7 separate regions of the Homo sapiens genome follow, and all the other regions are linked to region 4. The links are contacts of gene promoters, found by promoter capture Hi-C in blood cells and fetal thymus (Javierre and others, 2016). All regions are on one chromosome and are shown on one strand. Each heading gives the region's core, a stretch centred on a gene start or on the middle of the fragment in contact. The rest is flanking DNA. Distances are from core to core; before and after follow the strand shown. Region 1 holds the start of KLHL42 (kelch like family member 42). Region 2 has its middle 20 kb from the start of BHLHE41. Region 3 overlaps REP15 (RAB15 effector protein). Region 4 holds the start of TM7SF3 (transmembrane 7 superfamily member 3). Region 5 has its middle 4.1 kb from the start of BHLHE41. Region 6 overlaps PPFIBP1 (PPFIB scaffold protein 1). Region 7 overlaps PPFIBP1 (PPFIB scaffold protein 1).

Region 1 (3,686 bases), core at 374-2,873, 770 kb after region 4:
TTATCATAGGTGGTTCTCAAATCTTGGTTTGGGGTAAGTTTTCAAGGTTTTCTGTTTTTGTTTTGTAAGATAAGAGTGAACACACCCTCTGCTTCCTCCCAATCCTTCTCCCTTCTCCTACCCAAAGATAATCCAAACAATATATTTCTCCCCCCACCCCCTTCCTGGGATGAATTCATTAGCAAGACAAAAAGTCCTTCCTATTATTATTTGGGGTGGGCCTTCTAATTGCAATGTTCAGTGAGAGAACATAGGAAACAAGTGGTCTCTCTTTTCCGAGACGGCGTCTCGCTCTGTCGCCCAGGCTGGAGTGCAGTGGCGCGATCTCGGCTCACTGCAACCTCCGCCTCCCGGGTTCCAGCAATTCTCCTGCCTCAGCCTCCCGAGTAGCTGGGATCACAGGCGCGTGCCACCACGCCCGGCTAATTTTTGTATTTTTAGTAGAGACGGGGTTTCACCATGTTGGCCATGGTGCTCTCGAACTCCTGACCTCGTGATCTGCCCACCTGGGCTTCCCAAAGTCATGGGATTACAGGCGTGAGCCACCGCGCTCAGCCAAACCGCACGTGTGGTCTCTCTTAATAGTCCTCAGATGATGGGGGCAGGGTAGGTGGAGAAAGGGGGTGACAAGAAAAGCTACTTCTTGCAGACATTTATGAGCCAATTTTGTCAGATCTTTTGCGCCAGGATAACATTCCGTAATGGACTGGACTGAAGTAGAAAAGCAATGGCTCATAGAAAACATGGTTTAAAACCAGAAGCCACGTGATGTAACTTTATTTAGTCGGGCTGCGCTTTCATCTTTCTTTTAATAACTTAGGGAGAATAAGGGGCCCCAGTGGCAAATGCAAGCTCCCCTGCCTCCCAACCCGATTCCTCTGAGAACCTGCTGCCATCTGCCTGGACCTCCTGTAAGATGGCTCCTACGCGACCACGCTACCAGAGAATCAGCTCTACGTGCCACCAACATTGCCACCAACTGTCCATAGATCGCCTGCGTGCCTCAGCCCACTGACACTCGATGCCGGACTGGGCCAGAAGGACGACCCCATATTTGATGCCTTTTTGTCTCCCTGGACCAGAGACTCCATCCTTCCCTTTCCTCCCACGCTCATTTCTTTTTCTTTAGCCCGTGTAAAGCAGCGTGGGAGAGAAAACGAATTTCTTCTCCCTGGGGTACCCCGGAGCATCACTGCAGCCCCCAACAAGCGGCGGAGCCGGCGCGCCCCGGGCGGGCGGAGAGGCTGCGGGGACGCGCGCCCTCCGCCTCCCGCAGCTGCGCGTCCGCAGCCGAGGCGCCCGGGCCCGCAGCTTCCCGGGCCTCCCCGAGAGCCGGATCCAGCCGGCAGGTCAGGCCGGCGGCTGGGGTCCCGCGGGCGGAAGTGAGAAGGGCGGCGGGGGAGGAGGCTGCTGGCTGGGAGCTGGAATTCCCTTCCCGCCTGGCGCCGCCCGGGAGAGCCCGCGCGAGGACGCCCGCCGCGCTCCGCCGGCCCTTTTTTGGCGCTGAGGGAAAGGAGAAGGGCAGGGCCGCCGCCTCGCGGGAGCGGGCCCCGGGAGGAGGGGCCGCCGGAGAGGCCGGGCGAGCGCGGGCGGCCCTCACCTCGCCGCTCCTCCCGGGCCGCCATCCCTCGGCGCCCCGCCCGGAACCGGCGCGCGCGTAGGGGCTGGGAGGCCGGCGCGCAGATCTGGCGGTGAGCGCTGCCGCCCCGGGGCCCCCAGCCATGTCGGCCGAGGAGATGGTGCAGATCCGCCTGGAGGACCGCTGCTACCCGGTGAGCAAGAGGAAGCTCATCGAGCAGAGCGACTACTTCCGCGCCCTCTACCGCTCCGGCATGCGCGAGGCCCTGAGCCAGGAGGCCGGCGGCCCGGAGGTGCAGCAGCTGCGCGGCCTCAGCGCGCCGGGCCTGCGGCTGGTGCTGGACTTCATCAACGCCGGCGGGGCCCGCGAAGGCTGGCTCCTGGGCCCGCGCGGGGAAAAGGGCGGCGGGGTGGACGAGGACGAGGAGATGGATGAGGTGAGCCTGCTGTCCGAGCTGGTGGAGGCGGCCTCCTTCCTGCAGGTCACGTCCCTGCTGCAGCTGCTGCTGTCCCAGGTGCGGCTCAATAACTGCCTGGAGATGTACCGCCTGGCGCAGGTGTACGGGCTGCCCGACCTGCAGGAGGCCTGCCTGCGCTTCATGGTCGTCCACTTCCACGAGGTGCTGTGCAAGCCCCAGTTCCACCTCCTGGGGTCTCCTCCCCAAGCTCCAGGGGATGTCAGCCTGAAGCAGAGGCTGAGGGAGGCCCGGATGACTGGGACTCCTGTCCTCGTGGCCCTCGGGGACTTCCTGGGGGGACCCCTGGCCCCTCACCCCTACCAGGGGGAGCCCCCGTCCATGCTCAGGTACGAGGAGATGACTGAGCGTTGGTTCCCGCTGGCCAACAACCTTCCTCCCGACCTGGTCAATGTCAGGGGCTATGGGTCTGCCATCCTGGACAACTACCTCTTCATAGTGGGCGGGTACAGGATCACTAGCCAGGAGATCTCCGCTGCGCATTCCTACAACCCCAGCACCAACGAGTGGCTCCAGGTGGCCTCCATGAACCAGAAGAGGTAAGCACCCCGGCAGAGTGCTGCTGCCTTCTCATTCATTCACTTGTTCATTAGTTCATTACCCCAGTGTTTACTGAGCCAGTAAATAGGGGAGGGTGTGCTGTGGTGGAAATGACATCTTCAGGAATGTTGTTGGCCTTGGCGCTGGCAAAATTCCCAATGAACTAAGAAATTGCGAAGAGGACGTCCCCAGTGAGGTCAAGAAGTGGAGTGGTTTTTTGGCAGGTATTGTGCCTTTAGGTGAAACTGCTTTCTTTGCCTCTGTTCTTGTGAAAAAAGATGTTGTGGTTTCCTACAAGAATACTTTAAAAGAAAATTGCCCCTTAATTTTTAAAAAATTTGTCTTAGTTTTTAGGATTTGATCCTGATGATAATGATACACTGGACAGTAACCTGTAACACTGACTTTGGGGGATTTTTTTCTGATGTCAGTGACTGTGACAACAGAGTCTTCCACACTGTGATACCCATCATGATCAAGAGATAATCACTGGAAATGTATTAACGTTTGCAATAGGGGTTGCTTTTCTTATTTTTTATCCTCTCTTTTGCTTCCTTCCCTGGACAGCCATCGTCATGACCCACAGCTTGAGCCTGGAAGTGTTCAACTACAGAATTGGAATATTTTCATTTACGCAACCTTCTCCCCCTCCCATCCTGCAAATCTCTCCTGCCTCCAACAAGGGTGACTTGAAGAAAGGAAGAGGAGGAGCTTGAGGAGTGGGATGAGAGGGGAGAAGGGAAAGGAACCAGGGAAGGAATATCAAAACAAGAGCAAAGAGCATATACAGGAAGAGATGGTAGGAAATAAAGATGGTAGCGCCTAGGAGGCCTCAGCGTCATTCAGAAGCAGGGAAAAGAATCAATGTAACTCAAGAAAGGATGAAAATACCCTTTCTTCCCATCCACGTGTTTCCATCTCAATCCTCACAGGGTCCTGGTCCTGAAGTGTGGAGCAAGGAGTTGGGGAGCTCACAGCTGGGCAAAGAAAGTCTTAACAGTAACAGAGAATCCTTTATATATCTGTTTATTTGACTCGAGGGTCCTCCTCGGCCAGGGATTATTTGGGGGAAATAACTGGCTTTATTTCTCC
Region 2 (3,768 bases), core at 240-2,739, 910 kb before region 4:
GAGTGTTACTGAGATCAGTTACTTCACACCCATTTTACCACATCTCCTCACCCACAGGGTACTGAATGTATCTATCTAGGAGACTGTATTTTCAGTTATAAAACATGATAAAATGTTTCATCAATTCATCCCTTTGGGCTCACTTTTAAATTTTGTTTAAGTTTTTCTGTTAATTTACTATAAATGTTTAATAAATTAAGAGTATATTATTCTCATGAGCTAACACTTCCTCCAAACTATTTTCAACCAATGAATTAAAGGATAATGGAATGCTTTTATCGGGTACATAATAAATGGTCAATGCCACCAAATGTTACCAATTTCCAATATTAGAGACATAAAAAATGTAGAAAGGCTGTTCATTTTATGAGGGGATGGTTGAGTGAATTAATTTTAAAAATATTTACTGGATGCTAGACACGGTGGTAGGTACTGGGGGTACTTAAATTAATAATTAGCCAGGACCCAATGCCCACCCTACATCAATTTCAAGAACAGGAACAATAAATGTAAATACATCAGAAGTATTCAACTTGGGGACTTTCAGGAGAATACAAAAATAGAAATAAGGAGACATTCTTTTCATCCTATTCTGGTTCAATTACTTTGTTCTCTGTACAAGCTGGAGAGCACATATTCTCCCATCATGAGAGAAAGGGTGGCGGTCATTCAACCCAAACCAATCACATGTGCTTTGGGCAGAAACTGTCAATATTAAGGCAAATCACATCCAGTTTATCACAGACTCAGTTAAAATAGAAGGAAAATATTCCCTGAAATATGGTCTCTGATGCTTGGTAACAGTGCTTTGGAGCTTGACAGATGTAGAGACAGCCAATCACCTTTACATCTGCCAAAATATCTATTCTCCAAAGCCAGAAAGATAAAACGCCTAAAACCACAATGTGAAGAGTTGAATATTGAAAATTCCATATGTTTTGCAGGTTGATGCTAAATCCTATGAGAAAAACCAGCACATCGGGGCTCTTGTAACCAACTTTCAGGAAAGGAATCCTAATCTCCGAGAGGCAGGTATAAGAAAGATTACTGTTTATAAAGGAGTATGGCCATGCTGACCTTCAAAGTGGGCAGAGCCACAGCAAGCCACCTCATCAGGTCTGATAACCATGTCCTGGAAATGGGTGATTTGGAGATGGCTGGTAGGGCCAACTATATAAGAGTTGGCCTTATTGGTGAAGTAGCCAAACAAATGAGGATGCTTCAAAACTACCATTCGAGTGAACGGAGTTGGGCAGTGGGGGACAGGATTTAGGGCTGAGCACCTAATTTCTCAATCAGATAAAGGGCAAGGTGGTTCTCCTCCTCCCAGCTTGGGTAGGAAGTGCAATCAGTCCGATTTCACAACAGAGAAGGCAAATCCTCCTATGCTGATGTCTTCTCCTAAAATCTATTCCTTGCTCACTCTATCATAGGCACACTGGCCTCCTGACTGTCCCTTGGTTGTGCTGTGCATGCTCCTAGCAAGGGCCTTTGCACTTGCTGTTCTCTGTGCCTGGCACACTCTTCCCCCTGATTTCCTCATGGCCCCCTTTCTCACCTCCTTCAAGACTTTCCTACTATCTCAGTGAGGCCTAGTGTATTCATTTTTTATTGCAGCCATAACAATCACAACTTACTGGCTTAGTATATATAGGGTGAATTCCCATATACACTTCATGTGGCATAAGACAATACAGATTCATTTTCTTATAATTCTGTAGGTCAGAGAGTCAAAGTGAGTCATATCAAACTAAAATCAAGATGATTCTAAAATCGAAGAGGACAGTCTGTGTTCCCTTCTAAGGGCTCTAGGGGAGGCTCCCTTGTAGGACGGAGGTCCCTGTTTCCTTGCTGTCAGCTGAAGGCTGCTCCTGGCTTCTGGAGACTTCCTGCATTCCTTAGTGCTGGCCCCCGGCCTCCACCTTCAAAGCCAGATATGTGGAGTTCTTCTTCCTTCTTTAAATGTTATGAATGGCATTTATTTAGTAACACTGACATTGGTATTAAAATGGGACTACACATTTAAAAAAATCACTGTATTATAAAAATGTCATAAATTTCTCTGGACTCTAAAATTGAAATAAAATTCATAAACACATATCCTCATTTCTCTAGAGATGGATGCGTCTTATGTAGGTAGAAAGAAAATGAAATGGCTAATATGTACCCAGTTTTAAAGGGTATCTAAGGAAAGGTATATTAAGGACACTCAGTTTTTAATTTGGGCTATAATTTTTTTTTGTTTTTTGAGACAGAGTCTTGTTCTGTCACCCAGGATGGAGTGAAGTGGCGCGATCTTGGCTCACTGCAACCTCTGCCTCCCGGGTTCAAGTGATTCTCCTGCCTCAGCCTCCTGAGTAGCTGGGATTACAGGTGCTCACCATCACGCCCAGCTAATTTTTGTATTTTTAGTAAAGATGGGGTTTCACGACGTTGGCCAGGCTGGTCTCGAACTCCTGACCTCAAGTGATCCGCCCGCCTTGGCCTCTCAAAGTGCTGGGATTACAGGCGTGAGCCACAGCACCTGGCCAATTTGGGTTATAAATTGTGAGTGAGAAAATCACAGAGGTGACATGCCCTTGCATCACTTAATATAAATGGGTACATGATATCCACCTGACTTATCACTAGTGATATTAACCATGATCACTTGGTTAATATCACTTGTTTAAGGTGGTGTCTGTCAACTTTCTCCACCGTAAAGTTACTATTTTTTTCCCTACTCTAATCTTTAGAAATGAATCATTAAGTCCAGTCCACACTGAAGGGGATGCTTTATTTATTCCTTATTTGAAAAAATTTTTTTTAACTTACAGAAAAGTTACAAAAATCCTACAATGAATTCCCATATACACTTCATCTAGATTCACCACTGATAACATTTTCCATATGTGGTTTATCAAGATCTCTCCTGCTCCCTCTACAAATATACATATTATTGCTATTCATATGACTATTTGAACTGAAACATTTGAGAGTAAATTGAAGACATCATAACCTTTTGTCCCATATACTTCATCATGTATACCCTAAGAACAAGCAATTCTTTCATCTTCATAGTACAATGACCAATTTCAGGAAATTTAATATTAATATAATGCTATTATCCAATATAGAGACCAGCACTTCCACTTCTGTCTCTGATGGAGTATCTGGGACTAGTCCTCTTGCCTTAACTGTAAAACTGGATGAAATATCAAAGGCAAGTGTTTTCAGACATTGGCGAACAAGCAATACGAGGCAGAGTAGGCAATGCAAGACTGCAATCAATCCCTGAAGGCAGGGAAACCTAAGAGGTGAACGTCATGATGAGCCTGGCTCCCTGCCTGGGGAAATTTTCCTAACTGCAGAGTAGTGATCCAGAATGCACGCAGAGCACAGCAGTCCCTCTGAACTGAGGAGGAAGAGATCAGAGGTTGGGGCAGCTGAAGTGCCAGAATCTGCAAGGCAAGGTCCCAGGGAGATGGGAGCTGTGCAGGTTACAGAAATAAAATTATGAGTTCATACTAATACCTCTACTTCCAATATAATTGCACTAGGCTTTCCCTAGCCTTCCCCCAGCCCATATTTCTGGCTCCCTTTCAGAAGCCCGGTTTGAGAGCAGACAGGCAAAGTCACCATTTCCACTGTCCAGTTTCCTAGCCAAGGGAAAACCTGCCAGTGATAAGGTGCGTAAAATGAGGGATGTGGCCCAAGAGTCATTGGTTTGAAACCCAGAGAACTGATGACGTAAAACTCAGAGAATAACAGATTTAGTAAGGGTGCACC
Region 3 (3,938 bases), core at 830-3,329, 680 kb after region 4:
AAGTAAACTCTGCCCAGCTGCAAATACTCTGAATGAGATCTTCTTAATCCATTTCATCACTTTCTGCCAAGAAAAGGGAGTTGATGAGTGGCTGACCACCACCAAGATGACCAAGCACCAAGCCTTCCTGTTTGGTGCAGACTGGATTTGGACCTTTTGGGGATCCAACAAGCAAATAAAGCTTCAGCTCGCAGTACAGACTCTGCAGATGTCTTCACCTCCTCCTGTGGAATCTAAGCCTTGTGACCTTTCCAATCCAGAATCAAGGGTAGAGGAGTCTTCCTGGAAGAAAAGTAGATTTGATAAGCTGGAAGAATTCTGTAACTTAATAGGAGAGGATTGCCTGGGTCTGTTTATCATCTTTGGTATGCCAGGAAAGCCTAAAGACATCAGGGGAGTTGTCCTGGACAGTGTCAAAAGTCAGATGGTGAGGAGCCATCTGCCAGGAGGGAAGGCTGTGGCTCAGTTTGTCCTGGAAACTGAAGATTGTGTGTTCATCAAAGAGCTGCTCAGAAATTGTCTGAGTAAGAAAGACGGGCTGAGAGAGGTGGGCAAGGTTTATATCAGCATTCTCTGACTTGGATATGTATTATGTGAGTGGCCTGTAAGAGGAAAAGAAAAAAAGATTCTAATAAGCAAGCTCACCTATTTGCATCATTCCAGCATGGGATTTTTTTTCATTTGTTTTCCCATTGATTGAAAATGATTACTGGGATCAAAGTACATTCATGTCGCAATTACAGAGAGAGAGAGAAAAAAAGAAAACCCTGGCTCTGCCTATGATTTAAAAACAGTTCAGGAAAAGTTATAATTTAGTTTAATATTTCATTCACTTATTCAATAATAAAAATGGAAGAGAGATAATAAAGTCACATTTAAAGTTTGATTTGCAAAAAAAAAGTGTCTGTTTGAAATAATAAGTCTAGCACTCAAAAGTATAAAATGTGTTTTTGCATCTGTTGGTGGGAGATGGGTAGGATAAAGTAGTGGGTAAGGCTACAGAGCAGGTTTAATTACATTTGTAATGCCAGTTTCAAGCCAGGCACAGTGGCTTATGCCTATGGTCTCAGCTACTCAGTAGGCTGAGGTGGGAGGATCGCTTGAGCCCAGGAGTTTAAGGCTACAGTGAGCTGTGATTGCACCACTGTGCTCTAGCCTGGGCAACAGAGTGAATCCTCATCTTTAAAAAAAAAAAAATAGTTTGGGTTCAGGACTCCTGCACAAAACTCACAGCGTTCTTTTCCTCTAACACTTACCTTATTCTGTCTTCTCCCTAGCTGCTGTCTCTGCACTGAGAGGACTTTGATGGGATTTACTTTGAGATTCACTTTAGTGTTAGCTCTGCCTATGATTTAAAAACAGTGACCTATAAAACTATTCCTTTTAATAATACTTGTTTAGCCTTTGCAGTAAGGAAGGTGTATTCACATATAATAACCATTTTTACTTAAAAGCCAGTGTGGAATTATAACAGTACAAAAAGGAATCACCATTATTTATTGCACTTGTAAGTCAAGTCAGATGCTTTACATATATTAGCGTGATTTGCATGTGTCTTCCATGACTCTAAGAGGTTTCTATTTGCCAAATCAAAGAGGCTAGATAACTCATAAATCTATTAAGTGGCTTGTAACAAAAAAGTAAAGTCTGCCCAGTTACAAAGCCCATATTCTACAGTCGTGTAAAGAAAATTCCCTGTAAGCCTATAAATTAGGTTAAGTAAAAATCAATTAAAAAAAAAAGAAGAAGAAAAGAAAATTCTTTGGCCAGGAAGAGTAGCTGTGATCCCAACACTTTGGGAGTCTGAGGCAGGAGGATTGCTTGAGCCCAGGAATTCAAGACCAGCCTGGACAACATGGTGAAACCCCATCTCTACAAAAAATACAAAAAGTCATGGTGATGTGTGCCTGTAGTCCCAGCTACTTGGGAGGCTGAGGTAGGGGGACTGCTTGGGTCCGGGAGGTCAAGGTTGCAGTGAGTCGTGATCGTGCCACTGCCCTCCAGCCTAGGCAACAGAGCAAGACCCCATCTCAATAAATACATAAAAAGAAAATTCTCTGATTTTAAACTACTGGAATTGCTGAGACAACAAAGGTGTTCACCTGCAAAAATGCTAGCTGGTTACTGTTGCTCATTTTTCCTCCATTTCCTGGCCTTAATCTGTGGCTACTTTTCCTGTTGTTGAACCACCTGTTCACTGATACGCAGCCATTAGAAACATGGGCTGAATCCTTTCAACTGCATCCAACCTCTTAAAATCGTTTCTGTTTCTGACAGTCTTCTTATGGCCTTGGCCTTTTCTGTATTTTGGAATTTAGGGCATGTTCCTGTGAGGCTGAATTAAGACATATGAGCGCAATGTGGCGTCATGCAGGTATTCCATAGTAAGAAATACATTTGTTGCTGTGATCTGTATAACTGAAGCATGTTGCAGTGCACTCTGATAGTTTGTCCTACATCGGTTTGTAAAATGCTGACTGCAAGCCACCAAATTGATATCATGACCAGCAATAGGCCACAATGCAGAGTCGTAAAAACTTTGTCATGGTAGAAGGAGTGAGAGCTTTCGAGTTTAGTTGAGGACAAACCTGCTTAAAATCCCAGCTCTTTTATTTACACGTATCCAACCAAACCTCTGTGCTGGTTATTCTCATTTCAACCTCCACATCTACTCCCCACCTTGTCTGCCTTCTTCTGGGCTCTAACTGCATCACTCTGGCTTCCATCCAGTGGAGAGCACGAGATCAGAAAGGGGACAGGTCTGGAATGTATTAGCCCAACTTTCCCTGCCTCACTACGATGCTTGGTTCCAGACAGCTCCTGTCCAGCTGGCCCTTCTCTGAGACTCCAGCTCCCTCCCCTTCCCCTCTCAGGCCATTGTCCCTTCCGGGGTGCTTCATCATTCTTTGTTAGTTCCTTGCACCCTGCCCCCACCCTGTAGATGTACTTTTTCCTTAGGTAGACTTGAGGGTGCCATTTGATTTCTTCTGTAGCCCTAATGCCTCCTGATTTTCCTATCTAAAAACCGGAGATGACAATACCCACCTCGTAGAACTGCTATTCGTTATAGAATTAAGAATAGCCAAGCGCGGTGGCTCACACCTGTAATCCCGGCACTTTGGGAGGCTGAGGCAGGCAGATCACGAGGTCAGGAGTTCAAGACTAACCTGACCAACATGGTGAAACCCCATCTCTACTAAAAACACAAAAATTAGCCGTGGCACATGCCTGTAATCCCAGCTACTCAGGAGGCTGAGGCAGGAGAATCACTTGAACCCGGGAAGTGGAGGTTGGAGTGAGCTAAGATGGCGCCACTGCACTCCAGCCTGGGTGACAAAGAGAGACTCCGTCTCAAAAAAAAAAAAAAAGAAAAAAGAAAAAAAAATCAAAAGTGCTTAGTACGATAATCCAGATCCACTCTTTGATTCTTTATCCAGCCCAGTAAACAGGATCCACAGTGAATCTAAAGGCGCGTCATTAACTTCAATCTAGATTTAGGCTTAAGTGCATGCCCTGTTTTCTTTCCATTGAGCCTGGTGTTCTTCAAATTAAAATACGCCTTGCAACATTGGGGAACACCAACCCCCAAATCCCTTCTCTTCAACTTTATCTCCCAAAGAAGTCCTGGGGGAAAGCGAGGAAAGGAGCATTCATAATCCCCATGATGCCTGCAGCTTCAGGAAAGAAGAAAGGGATGTATATTCTCTTCAGCCTCAAGAAATGGCTTTGTTTTCCCTCCCGTCAATGTTTATTCACCCCCATAGCCCTCTCCTTGAGGAACCTGGAATAGGAAGAACATATCTGTGGCCTTGTAGTTGTCCTTCATTAGAAGCTGGCATGAAAGAGTGTTTAATAAAATGGAGTATTGATATACACAATTACTTGTCAATTAAAAAGGACTTTTTTAAAAGAAGGTGAGTATTGGCAGAGACATCTGT
Region 4 (3,849 bases), core at 123-2,622:
AAAGTCACCTGAAATCATCAAAAATGGTGTACTCATAGGGAGCCAAGCCCGGGCATGTTGCTTCTTGGCTCCCACAGGTGAATTTGAAGTGGCAATAGAACTTCGTTGATTCTTGTTTTTCTCATTTTAGTTTTACTCTCTATTAAATTGTTATTTTTTACAGTTCATTTATGGATGACAAGTTATTTCCTGTTGGTAGCTGCAATGATTGGGAATTTTGTGATCTCTGTAAACGAATTAATATCTCATAGAGATCTATTTCCTGTTGGATATGAGACAACAGAGAACACAGTTTTTGTCCATTTGTCTTTTTTAAGGTCAAATCGATTAGAAATTTCTTGCCCTCAAGTAAGGAGAACAACTCTGATACCTGGACTGGCAAGCTTTTGTGTTTCTGTGTTTATTTTTCATTTGTGGCTGAACTTGTAGAATTGAGGGTATACACATTCTATCTGTATGTCTATGTATCTGTAATTCAGAAAGTCCTTTATTTCTCATTGTGAGTATGGAATGTTTTCCTGTCTCCAGATGGTATTAATAAATTAGATGGTAAAGGCTCTTTAAAAATAAAGCCTCATTATGGGTTCATTTTCCCTCTCAAACTCTGTAGAACATAACCAGTTTGAAAAGCCTCTAGATTTGGGGGTGTAAAAATTCCATGCAGCTTGAGAGCCATCAGTCATTAAGCCGCTAGTTCCACCCCAAGTCTTGCTGTCCAGAAGCTCAGACAGTCCACTGGGCAGCAAAGAGGCGCTTTAGTAAGTTGAATTAAAGCCACAAACATGGCTGCTCCCTAAGGGAGATAATACTGTGTTAAAAAAAGAGAATTATTTATCTCTTCCCATTTCCTCCGCTAAATGAGGAGGTTAATAGTAAGACCTCCTTAGCCATGAGTGTTTCCGCTGCAGGAAACACCATTCGTGCCGGTTCTGGACTCACCACCCAGCGTGTACCAACGCCCCCAGCACCATCTCCCTGCTAGGCTGACAGACCCCTGGCGGATTTTGACCTCGCAAGAAATGCAAAAGCAACTTTGGGTTGCAGAAGCCAGGCGCCCCGACCTTACCCTCGCTGGAATTCCCGAAGACCTCGGCTGCACCAGCCACCCGGTGTTCGGATGCCAGCACCGCTACGACCAGCAGCTGCAGGAACCCCATTGCTGCCTGGGCCGGGCTGGGCCCACGCCAGGGCTGGGGAGAGGTGCGGGCGTGCGCGCCGGGGCCCCGCAGCCTCGCCCACGCTATCCCGGGGCGCCCGCATCGGGCGCCATCGCCCGCCAGGTGCAGACGCTTCGCACCTGCCAGCTCCGCAGCCGCCGGCGCGCGCCCCGCCGAACTCCTAGCCCCAGCGAGAGGTTTCCTCTTCCGGCACCTGACCCCCAACGCGCGTTCCCGCGCCTCCTCCCGGGCTCTCGCTGCGTCACAGCGGCGGGTCTCTGGGCGCGGGCGGCGCTGGGGCGTTTCCAGGCAGCGCGCGCCTCCTGCCGGCGCGCGGGGAACGCGCAGCCTGCGGTGCTCCCGGGAGCCCCCAGGAAGTCCTGGCTTGAGGCCCGGTCTTGCCCCACTTTTATCTCACCAAGTAGGCAAACCCACTGTGAAAGTACAAAATAACTTTCTGTTGCGGACTAACGTCGCCAGGCTCCTGTTTCCGTGTTTAACGGCCCTTTACAACAGCAAAAAAGAGGAATCAGTTGCTAAAAACACAATTGAAGGTTATTTCCCCCGGTAGCAATTGTCTTCGCTGCTGAGGCTTATGTTAGCATAAAAATGCCAGGAGAATGCTGTTTGTGTAGTGGTTACCGCACTAGTCATAAGCACTACATTTAAAAGTAGTTTCGTTTTCTCTAAGCGAAATATCCTCGAAGACACGGCCTTGGTCTGAACTTCGTCTCAAGTCTCATACCTGAGTGCTGTTTGAGGGACAGTAGTCCATGTGACAGATGGCTCATCGATGATGTGGAATTAGACGCATAGACTTAACGTTATTTGGGGAGGATTGTCTTGCTTTCCTTCCCTGGTTTTAATTTTTTTCACTTATATATTTTGATGAGCAACTTATAGCTTGGAAATTACATGTTCAGTTAGTCCACTACTAAGCTAACAATATATAGCTGTGACCATAATGTGAAGAAGTGTTAAAGACAAAATTATTCAATGATACTTGTTAAAGCACCGAACGAAGACTATTGAGGACTGTCTCAATTGGCATAGGGACCACTGCAACTGGGTCTTGCAGTGGGGAAGAGGGACTGGGCTCAACTCCGAATACAGCGTGGGCAAGAGGGAATTTATAGCCAACCAGCAGTATGGAGTTCAGTGGATGGAAAATTACTAAGAGGAAGCATCAGAGGTAAGGGGCATTTGGTGAAACTGACCTAACAGGACTTCTGAAGACATAACATCACCTGGGGGATGGTGCAGGGTGAGAAAACTGATTAGATATGGAGGAAAGGGGGTTCTTTGCTAAAACTGGATTTTTACAAAGAAGTGCACAGATGGACCTAGCAGAAGATTCAGAAGCCGTACTAGAGTTTGGCCAAGCAAATAATCTTTGTCATAGGCACAATTCTTTCTCTGCTTTCCCACTGCCTGGTCCAAATTTTCACACCTTTGGTAGCACTATCTATTTCTGTAGTGCTTATTCACTCTCCCACATGCCCCTATTCCTATAACCCTCAGTAGATGAAATCCAAGGAAGATGAAAGGGACAATTATGATAAGGGTAGCATCTGAATCAGTGGATGGATTATTCAATAAATTGTGTTCTTAACTGATTAGCTGCACTATGGGCAGAGAGAAGCAGAACTCTATCTCACACTAATTGTGAAAACAAAATCCCAAAGTAATAAAACCATAAAAGAGCTAGCAGAAGAGGGCGCTCTTTTTTTTTTTTAATAAATTGATCTCAAAATGGGAGGAGCTTTCTAAGAAGCAAAACAGCAAAGGAAACAACCATAAAGGAAAAGATTGGTAGACTTGGCTACGTAAATGCTTTTTACATAAATATTTAAATTTTATTAAAGTAAACACACAAACAATATGAAAAGGCAAGTTGACCAAAAAAAAAAAATTAGCAAAGGACATGAATGGGGAATTTCACCCCAAAAAAGAAATACAAATTACCAGTAAATACATGAAAAAAGTTCAATCTCACTAGTAAACAAATAAAAAAATCAAATTAACAAACTAAGATGTAAACATTTTAAAAGTATAAAACATCCAGTGTGGATAAAAGAGCTAAGAAGGAGGCATTCTTAGGTAGGGATACTGGGAATATACACTTTAATAAAGTAATCGGCATCAAAAATGTTTAAAAATCTTATTTTTGTAGATTTGGTATAATCCACTTTTAGATTTAAGTACATAATTAAATACACATATAAAAATTAGTATAAGCTGGGGGAAGTGGTATGCGCCTGTAGTCCCAGATACTCAGGGGGCTGAGGCAGGAGGATTACTTGAGCCCAGGAGTTCAAGAGGGCAGTGCTGTATGATTGCACCTGTGAATAGCCACTGCCCTCCAGCCTGGGCAACATAGTGAGACCCCATCTCTTAAAAAAAAATAGTGTACAGAACTATTCATAGAGTATTATTTAGAGTAGCAGAAACATCTAAAACAACCTAAATGCCCAACAATTAGGAGTTAAATAACCTATGATAGAGCTTTATAAGAGGATCCTGTGCAGCCCTTCATTTATATTCTGATTGAAGTCTTTATGAAAAGGCAAGTTATGATGCAATAAGTATATATAGTACGTGGCTTTTTTTTTTTTTTAACATACATCTTTTATTGACTCAGAGGAATGGATACTTTTGTTGTTTGTTTGTTTTTTTAAATGGAGTCTTGTTC
Region 5 (3,950 bases), core at 630-3,129, 890 kb before region 4:
GCTCCAGAGCTAAATTTCACTTGAAAAGGATGACTGGTTAGGGAAAATGAAATAAAGACAAGATCATTGCATTTTGGCCTCGTCGGGCTAAAAACACAAGGCAGACATCTGACCAGGGCAAACCTTAGAAGCTAAGTCTGGGGCAGAGATTAAATGCAAGTTGAAATAGGAGGAACACGATCAGGAGCCTTGAGGCTCAAAGGTGGGTTAAATAAGCTTGCAGCACCCCATAATTTAAAGGGACAAAAAGCTGCAAATGACACATGAAGCTTTTTTCTGTTATCTCTTTGAGGCTCCTCTCTCCCCCCATCCTTTCTGCCCCAAGCTTCCCCACTTCCGTACCCTTTTCCCGTGATACCTACTCAAACTGCAAATGGGGTCTTTTCCCAATTTTTATCTCCTTTGTTGTTCTTGATCCCCTTTTCCTCTTCTTTTCTGTCTTTCCTTTACATATTCACCTTTTAACTCATGTTTCCCTTTTTCATTTCTTCTTTATCTTCCTTTCCCTTATGTTCTCTGTCTACCTTTTCCCTGTTAAATGCCAGCTTTTGCCATTTCTCTGTAGTTCTGTCAATCTCCTGTTTGCTTTTTGCCCTTTTTTTTCTTTGATCTTTCACCCTGGTGACTCTTCTTGGTTACCCACTTCCCTTAAACTTGAATCCCATTCCTGTTCTTTCTCAAACTCTTGGCTTCTGGAATATTGGGCATAGTTTGATGCCTCTGAATATCCCTTTGCGCAAGAAGGGTGTAACAATAGCTAACAACTATATAGCCTTTAAGATTAGAGTACCAGACTGCATTCAAAGAGCTTTTTATGTATTAAGTCATTAATCATTTCCACAACCCTCTAAGGTAGATACTATTATTGTTTCCATTCTACAGATGAGAAAATGCTTACAAAGTGAGATTGCAAAATATTTCCAAGGTCCCAGAGCCAGGATTTAAGCCCAGACAGTGGGTTCGAGAGTCTGGACCCTGGACGACTCTTACACCTCAATGTGAATAGTGAGTGGTAAGGTATAAGTGTTAACTAGCTGCTTCAGGGATGTTTTTCTATTTACCAGTATAAGTGTGCACATTTGTGTGTGTGTGTGAATGAAATTGTGTGGGGAGTTTTGCAAGAGAGATGGAAAAGGGAGAGGTGTTAGCATTGGAGCTGATGACAGAGATAAGAAAAGCTATGGCAAGAAGAGAGGCAGTCTTTTGCCATGTCAGTGAGTCATTCAGTTGGCATCTAGCTTCAAATTTATTGATTTAAATCCAAATATCCTAATTAACTCTTATAATTTTGTACAGATGGACAGATGGAAGTACAGTTTAGAAAAGGCTGATGGTGACCAGCTGTTCACCAGCTCTGCTGAGCAAACTGAGCCAAGCTCTAATGTGAAGACTTCAGGTTAGTAATAGGAAAAGTTCACCTGTGGTGAGGTTAGAAAGGGAAAAAAAGTACGCTAACAAAGGAACAGAAACTAGAATGCCATCTTTGGATATGTTTTAAAATAGGTTGAGTCTTATCTTTTTAGGAAAGCTTAATGCTATCCTGCTGAAAGCCAAGAAGATACAAGATGAGCTCAAAGCCCCTTTGAGCTTATAATTAAAGAATTTTGTGATGCTTTGCTTTCAATTAAAGATATCCATCTTTCTCCTTTTAATAGGCGAGGGGTAGCTGCTTCCATTGCTTTTCTTTGGTTAAGTAAGGAAATCATTACCTATAGAGACACTAATGAAAGGAAATACTTAGGCCAATTCTCCCCCCTGCCTAAATATCCTAAGTCCTGCACTCATTATATTCACCCTGTGACTTTAGAAGGCCTTATCCTGTTTGCAAAGTCTTGGATTTCCAACAGAAACAGAACTTGCCTGAAAGGATTAAAGTTTCCATGGGGAATAGAGGTTTTCTGCCTCTTTAGGGTTCTGCAAGCCCTACTGCCCTTCTGGAGAATTAACTCCAGGGTGTTTTAGGAACCCAAGTGTGATCCAAACTAACTGTACATCTCTGATGGCCCCAAAATCTGCTTAGGGGCGTAGAGTCTCCTGCCTGTGATACTGTGAAAATGGCCCATCTGAAGGGCAGAAGCCATTCTTGATCACCTCTGTTTTACAGAGCGGACAAGAATCTGCAGACGTTTTACATCAAAGTTAAGCAGAGTCCAAAACAATCTAAAAAAGTTTTGGGTTGATGCTAAAATCAAGGCCTGGAGGGGATAGCGGGGTGGGATCTGGACTTACAAAAGCTTCCCTAGGAATTTCGGCTCTTGGCATGCACACCTACTCTCAAGGGAGAAGAGTTAATGTTGTCAGGCACACCACAGAAAGAAGGGTGCCTCAGAGAAGGATTTAAGGAGGGACGGCAATTCCACTGCTACTCACCAGAAGCCAGTATGACTTTAAAATATTGATGATGTTATTTGCTGAAAGTACCGGATTTTAAATGCCAGAATAGAAGATTGGGTTTTCCAGTTGCATACTCAGCAAATGAGCAGAAACAGCACACGTGTCCCCGTTTAATTTGTAAAGGACCTTAAGTCTTTCTGAAGACTATCAATTAATGTGTCTGTAGCCATAAACATACCTATGAACCATGTTTTACATTTATGTAACACTGCTCAAGAAGTTTATGCACTTATTAGTCTTTGCATAGCTTCAAGGAGCAGATAATATTGAGTATTAGAAATAAATTTTATTTCTGCTGAAATCATTTGTATTTTCATATTTATGTGATGATCAAAACCATTCATGCAGGCTGTTCTGCATTTCACGTGTGCTCAAAATTCCTGGAGTTCTTAACATACAAAAGACAACTAGGAGAGAGCCAAGCCCAAAGACCACAATAGGAGGATTCCCTGGCCCTTCTGCCCCTACGTATCTGCCTGGTCCCTCATGGTGCCCATGTGCTTCTCATACTGATTGAGGTGGATCCATAATGAGACCGGAAAAGTAGCATGAGGAGGAGATGACAACCCCATTAAGGACTTTCACAAAGTGTTCTCTACCATTTCTCTGGAGTCTGGACTAGTTGGATGGTGGAAGTCTGCAGGAAGAGGGGCCTTTTAATGTCTGTGTTTCCTTTGTTACTGCTGATGAAAATTCTTGGAAAAATCTTCCAAGAAAAACATGTTTATGCAATGTGAAGCACATTCAAATATAAATAAGATGCACTAAATGTCCACTTCTCTCACCCACCCACTATGGGCTTCATACGGTCCTTACATCAATTGTCAGATGGTGTCCTCCTGGTGCAGAGAGTTGTCAGTAACAGATATTTCTTCTGACTTCAAAGGTACTCCTACTTTAAAAAAACAACAACAGAAAACTAGCTAAGGAGGGTTAAATCCAGACTTACAATCAAAACTATTGGTATAAAACTTTTTATTTAATAGCTAAAGCGAAAAATCATATATAACAATTACCCAACAAGTACTATGGTTCTGGTATTAACTTATAATCATCATTAGTAAGGAAACTGACTGAAATCCAGGCTGTGTATATTAGTTAAGGTCTGCATTTCAGCCAAAATAACAGCAACTGAAATTAGGAAGTTCTTTTTTGGTCACATAAAAGAAGTCTGAAGGTAAGCAGTCCAGGGGTAACGTGAAGTGGTAAAAGTGCCATCAGTGTCCCACACTTCTGCTTTTCCACTCTCCACCAGCGTCTATCTGCAAGATCACCCCATGGTCAGAAGATGGCTGCAGGAACTCCTGCAGGGAAGGATGAAAGGGTGCCTGCCAACTGAGCAAGGTCTCTTAAGGAGCTTTTTTTTTTTTGCAAGCTCCACCCATCTCATTGTCCAATCCCATTACAAGAGGTTACAAATGTAGTTTTCAAAGCTGAGGCTCCACAGCAATATAGGGGTTCTTTTAGTAAAGGGGAAGTGGAGACTAGATACTGGGTTGGCACTAGCCATCTCTGCAGTGATGTGACTAAAAGGAAATGGCTTGTCCACGTCCTCT
Region 6 (3,987 bases), core at 579-3,078, 520 kb after region 4:
ATGAACCTGGAATCCAGAATGCAAAAAATTGAGGACTACACGGGGGCTGATGAACTGCAGGTGGCCTGGTTAGTTCATCCTTTCAAGGAACTGATCCGAGAGAGACATGGTAGATAGCTTGGGTTTGAGGAAGGCTCAGGTAGAGAGGAGGATATTAAAAGAAGAAAAAGGGAGGAAGGAATGAGTGCATGGTCCAGGGTAGAGAGATGGGGCTAGACCCAAAATCAAGTGGAGGGCAGTGGGTTAGCCTCGAAATCCATAAGAACCCTTCTTCTGATGCGATGGAAGAGAGGATAGGGGAAATGGAAAAAAAAAAGATGTGATCAGAAGGGATACGAATTGAGTAAGTTCACTGCAGGCGGTCTGCATTGATTTATCAGTAGAGTAAGAAGCAGTGAAAGGAAATTCACAGACAAGTAACTCAGGCTCCTGAGAGGATGGCTCTGGGGATTATTGTCATGGAGGAAAAATTTGAAAGAATGACAGAAGTCTCTCATCTGAACAATACAAACTGACACATTTGCCAGAATGTGTCTCGAGGCAGGAAGTTGGTTTATTGAAGTGGAAAGTAGTGGTTATAAAAAAAAAAAAGAGAATGAAATTAGACAAAGGGAAACTTGACTGTCTTTGAAGGAGGAATTTTTAGACAACCAGACTTGATGGTTCACAGGCCAACTTCTTGGGGGAAACCTGAGCTCTGAGTGGTGAGAGACAACTGGTTTTGGAGCCCACAGCTAGGGTTTGGTTAAAACAGATACATCAAAGCACCAGGAAATACTCTGTAGAAAGGAGTTGTCCAACAGAGACAGCACTGGATTAAATTCTCCTCCTGATAAGGTGGTCTCTGATCTTCAGTTTACTTATTTCTAGAAAGATCTTTAGTTGAAAAGACATAGGCTTGTGGCATTTCAGCAGATTTGTTGTGGTAATGACATTAGGGGTATGTGAGAAAAGGATTGAAGAATGCAATGATTAAGAATGTGGTACTGAAAACCACTACCCCATCAGTCCATTGGTGGGTCTTATGGTGGTTGCTTTGAAAGATGTCAGTAAAGGCTTGTTCAAGTGTGTACAGTATAAATTGATAGGCATAATATTCTTGAGTTCAATGGTTTTCAGCTGGGCCAACTATAGAATCCGTGGAGCCTGTTGCAAAATGAAAATGTGTGACCCCTTATTCAAAAGGCAAGAAAAAAGTGCTGTTAAAGGTACTAAAATATGAAGCTTCTTTCCTTTCTCATACAGTTTTTTTCTCTTGACTTGTCATAGTATTGGCTACTTGTCATTCTATGTGAAGAAAAATTAAAAATTAAAATTACAGCATGAATTCAATTTAAAAATTAAAAAACTAAGCAGTGAAGTTTTTAGCATGAATTTACTCTTCATCTTTTTATTATACAATGTTGTTTTTGTTGTTGTTGTTGTTTGTTTTGTTTTGTTTTGTTTTTTGAGACAGGATCTCACTCTGTCACCCAAGCTACAGCGAGGTGGTGTGGTCACGGCTCATTGCAGCTTCTACTTTCTGGGCTCAGGTGATCCTCCCCCTCAGCTTCCCAAGTAGCTGGAACTACAGATGCGTGCCTGGCAATTTTTTTTTGTAGAGACAGGATCTCACCATGTTGCTCAGGCTGGTCTTGAAATCCTGGACTCGAGCAATCCTCTTGCCTTGGCTTCCCAAGATGCTGGTATTGCAGGCGTGAGCCACTGCGCCCAGTGCAATGCTGGCTTTAAATGAAAATATAGAGCATTGAACTCATATGCAGAATTACTGAAGTTGTCGACGCATATGTATATTGTTATGAGAACAGTAGAAACACTGCACAAAACTAAACTACTTTTATTTCACTTCTTGACATGTGCACATTCTACTGACACCTACCTACCTTTGGCTTATGATGTGTAATGAAAGACTGAAAGGAGAAGCAACTATGAGTTGCCTTATCTTTCCTTTTCCTTTTGTGCCGTCATTTTCAGCATAAGTGGTTGGCTAATATGGTTAAGTAACATGAGAAAGAGATAAAACGCTAAGCCTCCTTGGTCATTTGTGTTTCTTAGAAAGACATTTCTGTATGCAATCAAGTTCTGGTTCAAATGGAAGTCATTGCCTCTTTGGGCAGTCAGCACCCACCTGCCTGCTTACTCAGTTGTATTGGTAACACACTTACCTTGCACTCGCTTGAAGTCTTGCTGAACTCCCACGCACCAGGAGTTCACGGGAATTCTGAGCTCATGGTGCATTGGGAAAACTGTGTGAATAGAGAGGCCAGGAATGGTGGCTGTACATATTACGTCGTATGTTAGGCTGTTTTGCATTGCTATATAGGAAAACTAGGACTGGATAATTTATGAAGAAAAAAGGTTTATTTGGCTCACGGTTCTGCAGGCTGTACGTGAAGCATAGTGCCAGCATCTGCTTCTGGCGAGGCCCCCAGGAAGCTTCCGATCATGGCAGAAGGCAAGGGGAACCAGCTTGTCACACGGTGAGATAGGGAGCAAGAGAGACAGAAGGGAGAGGCCCCAGACTCTTAAACAACCAGATCTCCCATGAACGAATTGAGCAAGATTCACCAAGGGGAATGGCGCTAAACCATTCATGAGGGATCCGCCCCCACGATCCAGTCACCTCCCACCAGGCCCCACCCCCAACAGTGGGAATCTCATTTCAACATGCGATTTGGAGGGGCCAAACATCCAAATCATATCACATCGTTCTCCTCTGCTCACTTGTGGGCTCCATTGTCCCATTGGACCTGACTTACAAAACGCAAATTCAAAATTATTATCATTCTCAAGATGGTGACAGTAGAGTATTAAACCAACTGTGGGTCTTTTCTGAGCATGGGGTCCTGTGTTACTGCCCAGGTCACAGGTCCATGAAGATGTCTCAGAAGTCAAAGAGCTCACTTTTGAGGCTAAGTTTCCCTTGGTCCTAACGTCTCAGCTTCATTATTAAAGTTTGCAATGTAACAGGTTTGTGGGTGGTAGCCTAGGGGACTCTCTTCTGGTCATCAGCAAGGTCATTTTTGCCTTTCAATAATTTTTTAATCACTCTTCATTCCCCCTACCAGTATATCTGGGTTCGCATCCTCCTTCTCTCTGATACAGACCTTGCCGTTGTCTCCTACTGGAGCCCTGCAGGTAGTCCCTTCTCTCTCTCTTTTTTTTTTGAGACGGAGTCTCTCACGGTCACCTAGGCTGGAGTGCAATGGTGTGATCTCAGCTCACTACAACCTCTGCCTCCCTGGTTCAAGTGATTCTCCTGCCTCAGCCTCCTGAGTAGCTGGGATTACAGATGCCTGCCACCACGTCCAGCTAATTTTTTGTGTTTTTAGTAGAGATGGGGTTTCACTATGTTGGCCAGGCTGGTCTCAAACTCCTGACCTCGTGATCCGCCGGCCTCGGCCTCCCAAAGTGCTGGGATTACAGACGTGAGCCACCGCGCCCGGCCCCCCGTTTCCTTATTCTGCACCTTACTGCCAGACAAATTTTCCAAGTAAGTTTGGTTCCAGGCCACCCTGCCTACTCCAAAGCTTTCTTTGACCTCCTGTGAGCCATGGCTTACAGCAGAGTTCTCATCCTGTGTTCCCGGGGTGGAGACTGCATGGAGACAGGGTTGGTTTGGCCTGCGTGTTATTAATAAAGAAGTTTCAGCCAACACTTGCTTTGGGAGGGTTTACTTACTGAAATTCACCTATTGAAATTCAGATTTTAAAAAGAGGTCTGGCCACTGTGGGCTCTTGTTTCCTTGTCCTGCGCTGGTGCCTTAAAGAACAAGATGGACTGGGCATGGGGAGAAAGATGCCCAGTCCATCTTGTTCTTGGGTTTACTCTTAAGGCAGAGTGATTCTTTGCTGTGGCAAAATCTTCACTTTTAGCTATGTAAATGGAAAGCAGGTATCTGGCTATTCTTAAGAATGGTGTGAAGCAACCTGAATGTTGATCTTTTAGTCTGAGAAATTAAATTCCCCGTTCATAACGGAAATTGGG
Region 7 (3,718 bases), core at 352-2,851, 640 kb after region 4:
TTTATTTTTAGACTTTTGATATGAAGTATTAATCTTTTTATTAACCTTTAGAAATACTTTTGACTTTACGATATTTGGAGCATCCGTCCATCCATACTGTTTTTCTTAATTTTGTAAATAATGGGCTTAAATACATGGTTTCACTAGTAGTTATTATTTAGGCACACTGATTATTTACTATGTAATTGGATTTTGAAAATCTGTATAGAAAACATGCTAACATTCTATACTCACAAAATCACAGACAGAGCTTTTTTGAGGTCTTTTAATTTGGCATTCTACTTTTGGTCTGTTCCACATGTAAATCATTCCAATTAAATAAGACTCACTGTACTTCTACAAAAATCAGGGTACATTCTGTAACTTGAAGTATCCATTTTAGTGGCTTAACAAGCTTTATTGTTTGTTCTATTTTGTTAATTCAGGCCTCCTAGTTTGTTTGCTTTGTGACATTTGGCAAGTTCTTAACCTCTCTGTTGGTTTTTGATGGAGACAGAGAGCATATCCATTTGAAACATACATTTGAAATGAAGTATAAAGAGTTGCAGAAATTTCTTTTCTCTGAGAGCCATCTCCCCTCCTTTTTGCTTCCTATTTTGTTTCCTTGGTTGGAGTATGGAAGGGTGTCATGCTGGATTAGAAAATGGGTACCAAGGAGAGAGGAGAGAAAATGGTTTACTTATTTTTCCCTTCTGTTTTTATTTCAATCATGTATTTCACGCTGACTATAAGCCAGCATGATACCAGGCATTACATACATTATCCACCATAGGAAAGTTCTTTATATTGGAAATAACAAGTTTTACTCCACTGCTATTTTCAAAATTAAATTTTCTGTCAAAGATTCAATTACAGTGGAAAGTCTTGGTATATGTCTTGCTTCCTCCATAGCAAAAGGAAGTCTTTCATTTGGTTCATGTTTTAATCTTTTTTTTTTTTTTTAAGAGATAGGATCTTACTGTGTTGCCCAGGCTAGTATGGAACTCCTGGCCTCAAGCAATTCTCCCATTTTGGCCTCCCAAAAGCACTGAGGTTACAGGCATGAGTCACCATGCCCAGCCATGTTTTAATTTTAAAACTCTTTGTCAGTTGCCTGTGTGAGCATGTTTCTCATTTGATAGAAGCTGGGGCTCTTAAAACAGGACTTAGAAAGTTACCCAATTTAAAATTCTTGGTTTTGTATTTTCTCTAAAAATCTCTTTGATATTTTCCTCTTTCCCCTCTTTTTGTCAGGTCCTAACCCCATAGTCGCAGGGTAAAGTAATAGTAAAACTCAGTCAACAGATGGGCAACATGGCAGTGGAGCTAGCTCTGCTGCAGGGAAGAATTGATGGTAGATATGGATAGAGGTGGTCTTCTACATTGCGTCCACAAAGTCAAGGGGAAATATTCACCTGTTGTTAACTTAATTTGTATATGAGATGTTAACCAAATGTTGGGGCTAAATTGCAGTAGATGTGTTACTTATTGTTGTAAGCGCCTAGGGTAATATTTATATCCCTTGAGTTTGGCTGCTTTTTTTAATCAAATCTCTTTTCCCCACTTTTTCATTGTTTCACTCATGCACTCTCAATCACATACAAAGTGATCTTGTCATCAAACTTCCTGTACACTCAATCCCTGATAATCTAATAAAAATTCAGTGTTATTTCTAAAACGTATGCACAGACCCGGAGATTAGAGCATATGTGGTAAACTTTGTGATGTTACATATGAAAATAATTAAAATAATCTTCAACATTAAACTAACTTGAATATTCTCATGTTCTTGTTATCGTCCCCTTAATAAAAATATTTTTCTGGGTGTTTCATGAATCCATAATATTTAACTTTCTCTTAGAATTTTAGATTTATATTTGGATATTAATTTCCAAGAAAATATTGGCATGGGGAAGAAGTATAGGCATTTCCAAAGGACTGAGGGTACAAGTCTTTAAACTTTGGAAGATTCAGGACTTGTCCCTGGAATTGCTAATGGGAGATGATTAGCATCATTCAACAGTGCCCCCTTGTGGTAAGAGCATACATGTCAGAGACTGAGTTCCTGCAGGAGCCCTGAATTCTCTGAAAGGGAAAAGAGAAAGGGAACAGGAATTTTCTTTTTTAAAAGGACTGAACTTCTGATAAGAAATTGATTGAAATAGTTTGTATTCTGTTTTTTAAAGTTTTACATTAGGGAGCCATTTCCAGATTTTCCAGCTTGTGTTGTCAGGGGAAGATGTGATTTATTTCAGGTTGGAAATTTAGACCATATTTAAAGTATTGCCATGAAATATAGTTGAGTAGTTTTTTGTTAAAACAGATAAATTATCCCAGTTTACAATTCCATTTTTTTCAGTGGTTTCTTCTTTGCACGAGCAAAGAAGAAAGGAAGCTGTAAAATACAATAGCAGATAAGAATTCAATGGTATTTCTTAGCAATGAGAAAGTAGGAAAATATATATTTAGAAAGATCATATTGATGAATATCACTAAGGACTCATATTATGCAAGGATGATTAGCTTAGATAACTGGGAAAAGCTGATTTTTTTCTTTAGACTTGAATTCTGACCTGTTAGTTGAGGAATCACAAATATGTTGCTGAATAATGTCAAACAGTTCATGACCTAATTCATAAGAAGAAAATAGATATCATCTAAGTGAAATATTGTGCCATTATTAAGGTGTAATTGTATAACTATGATAGGTAATATTTTGCCCCATTTTATAAGAGACCACAATTTAAAAGCCTAAGGGTTTACTGGGAAGTGTTATTTTATTGTAGCATCCCTTCTCTTAGCCTTTGTGAACTTGAATCATTACACTTGGAAGCTTAAAATAATTTCTATTTACAAAGTTTTATTTCATATAGCATTGTTCTACTTGTAATTTTTGGCATTCGTGGATAATTTTGTCCTGTAGTCTATGAATTTGTGATGCAGGAATACATGCATGTCTTTGTAAAAAGAGAGAAGCTGGCCGGGCACAGTGGCTCACATCTGTAATCCCAACACTTAGGGAGTCCGAGGAGGGCGGGTCACTTGAGGTCAGGAGTTCAAGACCAGCCAGGTCAACATGGTAAAACCCCCGTCTCTACTAAAAATACAAAAATTATCTGGGCATGGTGGTGGGTGCCTGTAATCCCATCTACTGGGGAGGCTGATGCAAGAGAATCACTTGAACCCTGGAGGCGAAGGTCGCGGTGAGCTGAGATGGCGGCACTGCACTCCAGCCTGGGTGACAGAGTGAGACTCCATCTTAAAAAAAAAAAAAAAAAAAAAAGGAGAGGGAGAGAGAAGCAAAAATATAGTAACCATTGTAGGGATCTTTGTGGCTTGTAGTAAAATAAGTCATCTCCCATGCAGGGTATTTGAGTGTCTCTTTTGGAGGAGTTAATATTGCTTAACACTCTAATTTCCTTTCCTACTCTCTGGGCTCTTGGACAAGTTTTGTGAGCAAATTGGTCCTTTAAAAAGTAGCACTAAAATAAAGTGGCAGTAGAAAAGGTGCAGAATTGTGTTGTGTCATATAAACACTAGGATTGGTTTCTCTTTCATTTTCTAATGATAAAATTAGGTGAACTGCAGGGCCCTCATCCACTTTCCAGTTGAAAATTGTCATTAAACTTACAGTAAACTCAATCCCTGATAATCTCCTAATAAAAATTCAACACTATTGCTAAAATGTATGCACATACCCAGAGAATAGAGAATAGTTGAGAAACTTTGTGATGTTATA

Evidence for each region. Contacts are between HindIII fragments. The CHiCAGO score rates a contact against its expected background, and 5 or more counts as called.
Region 1: a contact is called between the fragment with the promoter of KLHL42 here and the fragment with the promoter of TM7SF3 in region 4, in 1 of 17 cell types (activated CD4 T cells). The highest score is 5.1, in activated CD4 T cells.
Region 2: a fragment that was not itself captured here is called in contact with the fragment with the promoter of TM7SF3 in region 4 in 1 of 17 cell types (fetal thymus); the score reaches 6.6 in fetal thymus.
Region 3: a fragment that was not itself captured here is called in contact with the fragment with the promoter of TM7SF3 in region 4 in 1 of 17 cell types (M0 macrophages); the score reaches 6.5 in M0 macrophages.
Region 5: a fragment that was not itself captured here is called in contact with the fragment with the promoter of TM7SF3 in region 4 in 1 of 17 cell types (fetal thymus); the score reaches 5.9 in fetal thymus.
Region 6: a fragment that was not itself captured here is called in contact with the fragment with the promoter of TM7SF3 in region 4 in 1 of 17 cell types (activated CD4 T cells); the score reaches 5.6 in activated CD4 T cells.
Region 7: a contact is called between a fragment that was not itself captured here and the fragment with the promoter of TM7SF3 in region 4, in 1 of 17 cell types (megakaryocytes). The highest score is 5.9, in megakaryocytes.

What each region holds. Positions count from the first base shown.
Region 1 is chr12:27,778,610-27,782,295 of GRCh38, forward strand. It overlaps KLHL42 (kelch like family member 42), which reads left to right and starts at 1,624. Exons shown (of 3, transcript NM_020782.2): 1 at 1,624-2,593. The coding sequence starts at 1,722. It overlaps MANSC4 (MANSC domain containing 4), which reads right to left and starts at 1,627. Exons shown (of 4, transcript NM_001146221.5): 1 at 1,601-1,627. RefSeq lists silencers at 1,226-1,445, 1,466-1,775 and an enhancer at 1,641-2,140. The HindIII fragment of the contact is 8,648 bases long and covers 1-3,686 here.
Region 2 is chr12:26,103,223-26,106,990 of GRCh38, forward strand. No RefSeq gene overlaps it. Among named protein-coding and RNA genes, the nearest start is that of BHLHE41, 20 kb to the right of the region's middle. The HindIII fragment of the contact is 4,994 bases long and covers 1-3,768 here.
Region 3 is chr12:27,696,697-27,700,634 of GRCh38, forward strand. REP15 (RAB15 effector protein) reads left to right here. Exons shown (of 1, transcript NM_001029874.3): 1 at 1-900. The coding sequence ends at 577. The region is part of intron 3 of MRPS35-DT (MRPS35 divergent transcript); the gene reads right to left. Among named protein-coding and RNA genes, the nearest start is that of REP15, 2.2 kb to the left of the region's middle. The HindIII fragment of the contact is 3,800 bases long and covers 180-3,938 here.
Region 4 is chr12:27,013,012-27,016,860 of GRCh38, forward strand. It overlaps TM7SF3 (transmembrane 7 superfamily member 3), which reads right to left and starts at 1,373. Exons shown (of 12, transcript NM_016551.3): 1 at 1,067-1,373. The coding sequence starts at 1,157. RefSeq lists a silencer at 1,066-1,565. The HindIII fragment of the contact is 5,016 bases long and covers 382-3,849 here.
Region 5 is chr12:26,127,147-26,131,096 of GRCh38, forward strand. It overlaps a transcript of SSPN not described here. Among named protein-coding and RNA genes, the nearest start is that of BHLHE41, 4.1 kb to the left of the region's middle. The HindIII fragment of the contact is 706 bases long and covers 1,527-2,232 here.
Region 6 is chr12:27,533,983-27,537,969 of GRCh38, forward strand. All of the region lies in intron 1 of PPFIBP1 (PPFIB scaffold protein 1), which reads left to right. Among named protein-coding and RNA genes, the nearest start is that of PPFIBP1, 12 kb to the left of the region's middle. RefSeq lists an enhancer at 601-650. The HindIII fragment of the contact is 1,212 bases long and covers 1,223-2,434 here.
Region 7 is chr12:27,650,347-27,654,064 of GRCh38, forward strand. All of the region lies in intron 7 of PPFIBP1 (PPFIB scaffold protein 1), which reads left to right. Among named protein-coding and RNA genes, the nearest start is that of REP15, 44 kb to the right of the region's middle. The HindIII fragment of the contact is 2,418 bases long and covers 393-2,810 here.